Regions from separate parts of the Homo sapiens genome. Here region 2 is linked to region 1. The links are contacts of gene promoters, found by promoter capture Hi-C in blood cells and fetal thymus (Javierre and others, 2016). All regions are on one chromosome and are shown on one strand. The core of a region is centred on a gene start or on the middle of the fragment in contact, and the rest is flanking DNA. Distances in the headings are between cores, read along the strand shown. Region 1 holds the start of DUSP23 (dual specificity phosphatase 23). Region 2 holds the start of UHMK1 (U2AF homology motif kinase 1).

Evidence for each region. The method cuts DNA at HindIII sites, captures the fragments that hold promoters and counts their contacts. A CHiCAGO score of 5 or more calls a contact.
Region 2: a fragment that was not itself captured here is called in contact with the fragment with the promoter of DUSP23 in region 1 in 2 of 17 cell types (total CD8 T cells and naive CD4 T cells); the score reaches 5.6 in total CD8 T cells.

The regions. Positions count from the first base shown.
Region 1 is chr1:159,778,875-159,782,674 of GRCh38, reverse strand. It overlaps DUSP23 (dual specificity phosphatase 23), which reads right to left and starts at 1,713. Exons shown (of 2, transcript NM_001319658.2): 1 at 1,308-1,713; 2 at 132-522. The coding sequence starts at 1,574. The coding sequence ends at 337. LOC101928264 (a long non-coding RNA gene) reads left to right here and starts at 3,294. Exons shown (of 3, transcript XR_922193.3): 1 at 3,294-3,449. RefSeq lists an enhancer at 821-1,397 and a silencer at 1,389-1,778. The HindIII fragment of the contact is 4,062 bases long and covers 1-2,939 here.
Region 2 is chr1:162,497,276-162,501,075 of GRCh38, reverse strand. UHMK1 (U2AF homology motif kinase 1) reads right to left here and starts at 3,258. Exons shown (of 8, transcript NM_175866.5): 1 at 2,808-3,258; 2 at 829-1,121; 3 at 1-163. The coding sequence starts at 3,075. RefSeq lists enhancers at 2,521-3,021, 3,208-3,287, 3,022-3,522. The HindIII fragment of the contact is 954 bases long and covers 1,240-2,193 here.

The sequences.
Region 1 (3,800 bases), core at 464-2,963:
CCTCTCTGAGCTTTGCCCACCTCATCCAAAGAACAGAGATGGCCCATCTGTCTTTCCTGTATCACAGGGCTACAGTGAGGCTGAAGTAAGTTAATGTGTGGGAATGCTTTATAAAGTACCATGCAACGTGCCCTGGTTCGTAAAACTCATTTATTCAACAAAGCAGTACAAGCCTCCCCTTCAATCAGGACCTGCCTGCAGGGGTGGGCTACTTCAGTGTCTTCAGCCAATGGGAGCTAGAGGGTTTAATACTTTAGTCCACTTCCCTTCATCTCTGGCCCCATCGACAACATGGGGAAGGGGAGTGAGGGCCTGGTAGAAGGGTACTAAGGCCCCTTATTTCGTTCGCTGGTAGAACTGGAAGACTGCTTTCTCCTGCTCATAGGTCTCGATGGAGCCGGGTCGTAGTCGTCGGATTTCAGCAATGGCATCTCCTGCAGCCAAGCCCCGCTCCTTCACCAGGTAACAGGCCAGCATGGTGCCAGTGCGGCCAAAGCCCAGAGCACAGTGCACTCCCACAGCCTACGAAGAGGGGGCTCGATGGGTGCCACTCAACTCCCCCACCCACAACTGTTTCCTGCCCCTCACTTGGTTCTCCCCACAGCTCCTTCTTCTGTGCCAGGTCCAGGGCTCTGCAGCAAAGTCAGGGAGGGCTGTCCCTGCACTAGGTGGCTAGGAGGCCTCTGCACTGGCTGGTTCAAGAGCTGTCCACCTCTACACAGCCCTCCACCTGTGGTGTTCAATACAGAAGACAGTAGCCACGGCTACTGTGGCTACTGTACTCGAAATGTGGCTAGTCCAAACTGAGATGTAGTGTGAAAAACGCAACAGGGTATGAAGAGGTAGTAGAAAAAAGAATGAAAATATCTCATTAAGATCACCAAAGTTAATTTTATCTGCTTCCCTGCTTTTTAAGAATGCCGTTGCTAGAAAAATTAACATTACATGGAGCCACTTAGGTTCCATTATATTTGGACAGCTTTACTCTAGAAAATGGTAAACAGCCTCCACCTGACTTCAACCCCCACCTCTCCCAGGTGTCTGTCCACACCCTTCTCCTTCACAACTCACAGTATTAGCTGGTTTTCACTGCCTCTCCTCAAGCCCAGTTCGCACTGCTTCGCCCTCTCTTTAGTTCCTTCCGTTTAGCGCTTCCCTCCCCCGCACTGGCTTCCCAGTCTCCCGGCCCTACTGTCTGCCTCCCCGAGCCCAGTTAAGTTATCCCAGGCCCGGTCTCCCCAGCTCCGCCCGTGTCCCCCGCTGACCTTCCAGGCCCCTCCCTCCCTGCGCTGACCCCGCCCGCTGACCTCTCCCCGTGCGTTGGCCTCGTCCACGATCTGCACGAAGCGGTCGATCTGGTCGGGGGCCGGCGGGCAGAAGTCGGGGATGCGCAGGCGGTGCAGGGTGAGGCCGGGGCAGCTGTCGCTGTGAGGGGGCCCGCGCTCCGTCAGGGACACCAGGTGCCGCACGCCCAGGTCCAACAGGAACTGGTAGTGGGCGGGGAGCCGCGGCAGCGCCAGTCCCGCCAGCCGGCCCGGAAGCACCCAGGAGAAGTTGGGGGGCTGCACGCCCATCGCTGGGAAAGGGCACAGGACAGCGGGTCATGGGGGCCGAGGCTGGCCAGCCCCGCTCCGCCCACGCGTCCCCTCGCCCGCTCCGAGCCAAGTAACTCACCACCTACCTGGCCTCGGCGCCTCCCGGGCCACGTGGTCTGCAGGGCGCCGCCCTCGGGTCGCTCTGCCCAGCCGCGGGGATTGGCCCAGAACCTGGGGCGGGGCTGGAACGCGGAACCCAGTCTCTGAGCGACCGAGGGAAGCGCCGCGATCCCGCCCCGTCCGAGCAGATCACGCGGTGATTGGCTGGATCATCATAATGGGCGGGGGGTTACTTCCACGGGGTTCAACCCACTCAGCTAAGAAGGAAGACCTGGAGCGAGTTAGGAATTGTTTGCTGCGGATGGAACAACCCGGGGTCGGGCTCTGCTGCACCCTGGCGGCATGTTGCAGTCATTGCGTCACTGGCGCCTGCCCCTGCCTCCTCGCGGGCCGGCCTAGTTCTACCTCCTTCACGCTGGATGCCCTGGGGTTTAAGAGATGACAAATCGGCTTTCTCCCAGGACGAGGAGTCTCCTCTCTAATGATTGACTGGTCGTTATCAGCGACTTTTTGAACTGTTCCAGTAAGAGGGAATTACTGCTGCAAGGAGGCTATTCTCATTTTTTCATTGCTGGAACTATTAAAAACTTACCCAGGGTAATAATTATAGTAATAATAATAACCAGCACCAACTTCTCCTGTCAATCCAGTTGCTCCTCAGGACTTATTGAGCATTTATTATGTGCTAGATAGTCTTCTAAGCACTTAGCACATACTGACTCATTTAATTGCCACAGTAATCTTATAAGATAGGTGATCTAGTGAATCCCATTTTATGGATGAAAAAACAGAGGCACTGGAGAGGTTAATAAACTTGACCAAAGGATGATGACTAATGCCTCCAAAATCTTTAATAATATCGCCATTTCCTAAAGTTAAATGGAACATTGTTTTCTCTTCACATAACCCCCTCATGTCCCCAAATATTATCTGGGTTAAACGCTTGTGGGTTTTCTTAATTTTTATTAGTATTTCATATTTCTTCATTTTTCAAGGTTTCCTAGTTCTCTGGGTCACTGTCCCCTGGGCAGGCTAGAGTTGATTAGTGTTGTTCTTACTAGGTGGGGGCCCCTAGATCTGAACACCGTTTCCACTGTCATCTGACCAGTCCATATCCTCATTTGAATAATGTGCTTCTAGCGATGCAGACTAACTGTAATTATGAAAATAGTTAACCCTTATTGAATTTGTTTATGTACCAGGCCCTGTGCCAAGCGCTTTCTGGAAGAACCACATGTGAAAGGTATTTTTGTATCTTTTTTTGTACATGAATCATTGGAAGCTTAAAGAAGTTGGTTAACTTGGCCAAGGACACAGTGATCCAAGCCCAGGGCACTTGGCCATGAGGATGTATTATATTTCCTTCCCTTTGCACCCACCTATGACACACGTCTGACCATTTAAGCCTTTGGCTTCAGCAAGATGGAAAGCAATTTGTCTTCTCCTAAAGATCAAAGCCTGCTCTGACCCTGTGGGAAATACACTTACCATTTACCCAGACAATTACTTTCCCCAGGTTCCAGGAGGTGCCAAATCTCCCCTTTTTCTCCTTCCAGACAATCACAGCCCTCATTAAGCCCTTCCTGTTTGCACTCTCATTTCCTACATAAATTCCTATCAAGGTTACCAGCCCTCCCCAGTTTATTCCTTTCTCTCTTTCCCAGCCATGGCCTCTCAGCCACCAGTCACCTCTTCCCCCAACCCCCTGACCTCCCACTTCTCTTCTCAATTCAACTGCTCTTCAGGATTTCTGGTTGCACTACCTCTGGAGACAAGACTCTAGCATTTGTTCTTGTAAGTTAATCTTTTCTTAGTCCCTTTGCCTTGTTCTCCTTTCTTTGCTTCCCCTACTCACCAGGGAAGTTTCCACTTCACTCCCTACCCTCCTATGTGCTCCTTCTTTGCCTCCTTGATATCCAGCTCGAAGCCCATATTCTCCAGAAAGAGAAAATTTTTTTGGGAGACCGAGATCTTCCTCTTCCCTGAGTCCCCTACCAATGATTCTCTCCCTCTTGTGGGTTTCTGCAGGGCTAGCAGTGCATCCATCAAACCATTAGGGCCTCCATGTGGAGAGGCCAGTTGGCTCCCTTTTTAGGAAGCTCTGCCCTTCCCTTCCAGCAGACCCAGAGTGGAAAGGGCCCAGGG
Region 2 (3,800 bases), core at 467-2,966, 2.7 Mb before region 1:
TCAGTTTCATTCCTGAGAACATTTCCAGTAAAATGATTCCTAGGCTCCACAGATCAACAGCTGAGGTACATTCTGTATCACTCTGCAGGCCAGCCTGGGCCAAGCAATTTTGCAATTCTGCTTCTGGAGCCCGATACCCGTCTGTCTGAATATACTTTACATCCTAAAAAAGATGAGTAAATATTACAACCAATAAAAAAGCTGCTCCCTTTCTATCCATCTCTACAGTGAATTTACTTCCCTAAGAGTGCAGTAAACCCACTGCCAAGCTAAATGCTAAAAATTTTTAGTCCTTGATTACCATAATTCTTTGGTTCATTAACTGGGCAGTTCTCAGAGGCAAGCTGTACATTTCCATATAGCGCTCATAAAGAAGTCTTCTTTGGATTGTCTCTTACCTATTAGGCACTGCTGATAATAAGGACACTGCAAAGAAATGATAAACCATGGAGAAAAGAGGATTTGGCAGAACTATCATATGCATTCTGCCACGAGATACAGCCCCAACACTGAAGAGACCAGGAATAGTAACTCAGCAATTAGCCAAACACGCATAAAATTTAAAAAACCATTCTATGTAGGTTAAGTACTTTTAATAATTCCAGAGCTCTCATGCTTCACTGGCTCCTCCTACCTGACCCAAACATTATGTCCTTTTTTTACACGGTGGCACTGAAATTCTTTTGATTTACTGCATCCCCTGGCATTTCAGTAATTTAGGTTAAAATGACTTGTAAGCCCCTACTAAACTACCCTTGTCATTTAAAAATATTTGGCTTCAACCACTACATTTTAAACTGCGAGAGAAAAGAAAAGGTTATTTCTTACCTGATTGCCTTCTTTGAAGCTAAGTCCAAAGTCAATGAGTTTAAAACATTCATTCTCTGCACTCCACAATATGTTACGTGGTTTGAGGTCCGCATGGACATAGCCCTCATGATGAAGAAAAGCAAGGGCCTCCAAAACATCTCGGGCACAATGCTGTATCATCCACATGGAACAACCCTGGTGACTGGAATATAAGAGCAATTCCGAAACACTGACATCCAGGAGTTCAAGCAACAGACAGCGTGATGGCACATTTGGAGAAAAGTGGATTGTAAACACTCCATACAAAGTCACTAGAAAAAGAAATTATAATACTTTAAAAATCAGACTCAGAGTAAGTCACTACTAAAGTAGGTAACTGCAGTACAAATTTGAGATAGTCTAGATAAGGATAACTTTGATGAGCAAGCTTCCACTGTAATTTATTTTTCCCATGAATAAGATCTTTTGGCAATTGGGTTATTTTAATAAAAATAAGATGAGACAGCCTACAACAGCTGATTACCATTCACAGATACTAAATATGGTACAATTATTCAATTTGTGTTTCACCAAGTACTCATTGGTGATGAACACGAACTTGGAGTGCCAAGCAAAAATGATTAAAAGTAAAAAACCTAAATATAAATAAATAAAACTTACTGTTGCATCATGAGGTCCTTTAAAAAAAAAGAAATTTTTAAAAGTAAAAACCCAAATATTAAGTAACTCTTTTAAAAGGAATGTCACAATGCGCAAAAACCAAACTAAACATTGCTTCTTCATCCAAAACAGCAGTCTAGGTCTGCCACGGTGGCTCATGCCCGTGATCCCAGCATTCTGAGAGACCGAGGCAGGAGGACTGCTTGAGCCCAGGAGTTTGGAGACCAGCCTGGGTAACAAAAGGGGACCTCTTCTCTACAAAAAATTAGCCAGGCTTGGTGCTACGTGCCTGTAGTCCCAGCTACCTGGGAGGCTGAGGTAGGAGCATGGCTTTAGGAGGAATTGGAGGCTGGAGTGAACTGTGATCTCGCCATTGTACTCCAGCCTGGGTGACAGAGTAAGAACTTGTCTCAAAAAAAAAAACTAAAACAAAAATAAACAGCTCTCTATAATCTAAATACTAACAAAGAGATTAAGACTTTTCGGATGAAATTTTAATCTTGCAGAGATCAGGCAAGTCCCTAGGCTTGCAAAATTTTTCCCTTTTCAATACCAAGGTTATAGTAACAGACCATTTAGTAAACTAAAAAAATGTAGCACTAGTGTTAATTCTTCTCCAAAATGATATTATAAAAAAACTCACTCTTCAAATTAACTATGCATCATACTTGCTAGGAAATAAGACTTTTCTTTAATAACCAAAGCTATAACTAATGATAAGCTTTCTGTCGTGTAATGAAAATGAAACCTTTTCACAGATCAATCATCAGTGATCATTACATATCTTACATTCTGAGTATCTGATTCTTGAAACAGTCTCAAGAGAGCAAAGGTATAGTGTTCCTAAATTTCACACTTCTATAAAGGCTCCCATGGAATAGTGCATCATTTCTTCCAAATCCGTACTAAAGATATAATAGGTGAGCTATACGAGTTACTAGCATTGATGTCACAAGGCCCAGACGTAGTTCCCATTTTCTACTGGTATGCAAAGATTCAAAAATTTCCACACAAGACACGACAATCTAGCAAAGACATGCCTCCTCTCACTAGAAAAGATATTTCTGTATGCTAATGAATGCGGCATTCTCCGATGAGACTCGAAGCAAGACAATTTACTGAGCATCTATGTGACACCTGGCAAAGCAGACCACCAACTCCACTATACCGCAGACAGTAATAAAGTGAAAGGGGAAAGGGGCCTGGATGGGGTGATAAAGAGGGCTAAACCCGCTTCTCCCGCAGAAGGGGAGGAAGATGGAACGCCAGACAGCGAGAGGAAGAGTGTGCTCGGACTGTGACCTGGGCAAGAAGAGAAAGGAGACAGCGGCAATTACCGATGTTTCTGTGACCCTGCAACTGTTCCAGCGCCGCCCTCTCTTTGCGGAAACCATACTCGGCGGCAGAGGCCGCAGCCCCGGTGGTTCCTGGCGGCAAGAACTGCTTGAGGGCGCCGGGGGGCGAGCCAGGGTTGCCGCAGCAGCGAACCCGATACACCGAGGCGGAGGAGCCGCTACCCAGACGGCTCTGTACCTGCCACAGCCGCCCGAAGGCCTCCAGAAAACGCGGCGGCTCCGCGCCCCAGGCGCAGCCGGATCCCGCCATCGGTGTGGGTTAAGGGCACGGACACGGGAGCTGACGCGACGCCTGAGGCAGGCCGGCCGGGCCCGCGGTCACATCTCCGCCAGCCGGACCAGCGGCTCCGCAGGGAGGGACCTGCAGCCGCCTCACCGACTCCCGGGACTTCAAGCAGCCATGACACCGGAAGCCGTGGTGCACCCGAGTCCCAGAAGCCGGAAATGGAGGAAGAGCCTATCATACAGGCCGAAGGAGGGGGGGCTCAGAAGGGGCGGGGCCTAGAAGAGATTAGACGCGCTAGGTTTGGAAAAAAGAACCGAGAATAAGAAGTAACCTTAATTATTGAGTATCTACCATTCCAGGCCCAGTGTTAACCGCTTTCACATAGACCTGAAGCCAAAACTGGTCCTTTTTCTTGTTGAGGCACCTCACCTTACCTCACCACTAGGAACCCGAAAAATAAAACCCGGCCTACATTTCTCATAGAAAGGATCCCAAGGAAAACACCCCAGGAACAAAAAGAGAGTTTACCATCACCTCCAGGTCCACGGTCACCAGAACCCATGATTCTGGAAGCCTAGACCTTTGTTCTTCTTTTAGATGTAAACCGAAAATACAATTCTAAGCCCCCCGTGTCGCCAACCATCGGAATGGACTTTCTCCCAGGCCAGGGCACTCTAAAATTCTGGTTCAGTCCATGACGGGAAGTGGGGGTCCGACTAGCCTCATACCTCTCCGGTTAAGGTCAACAC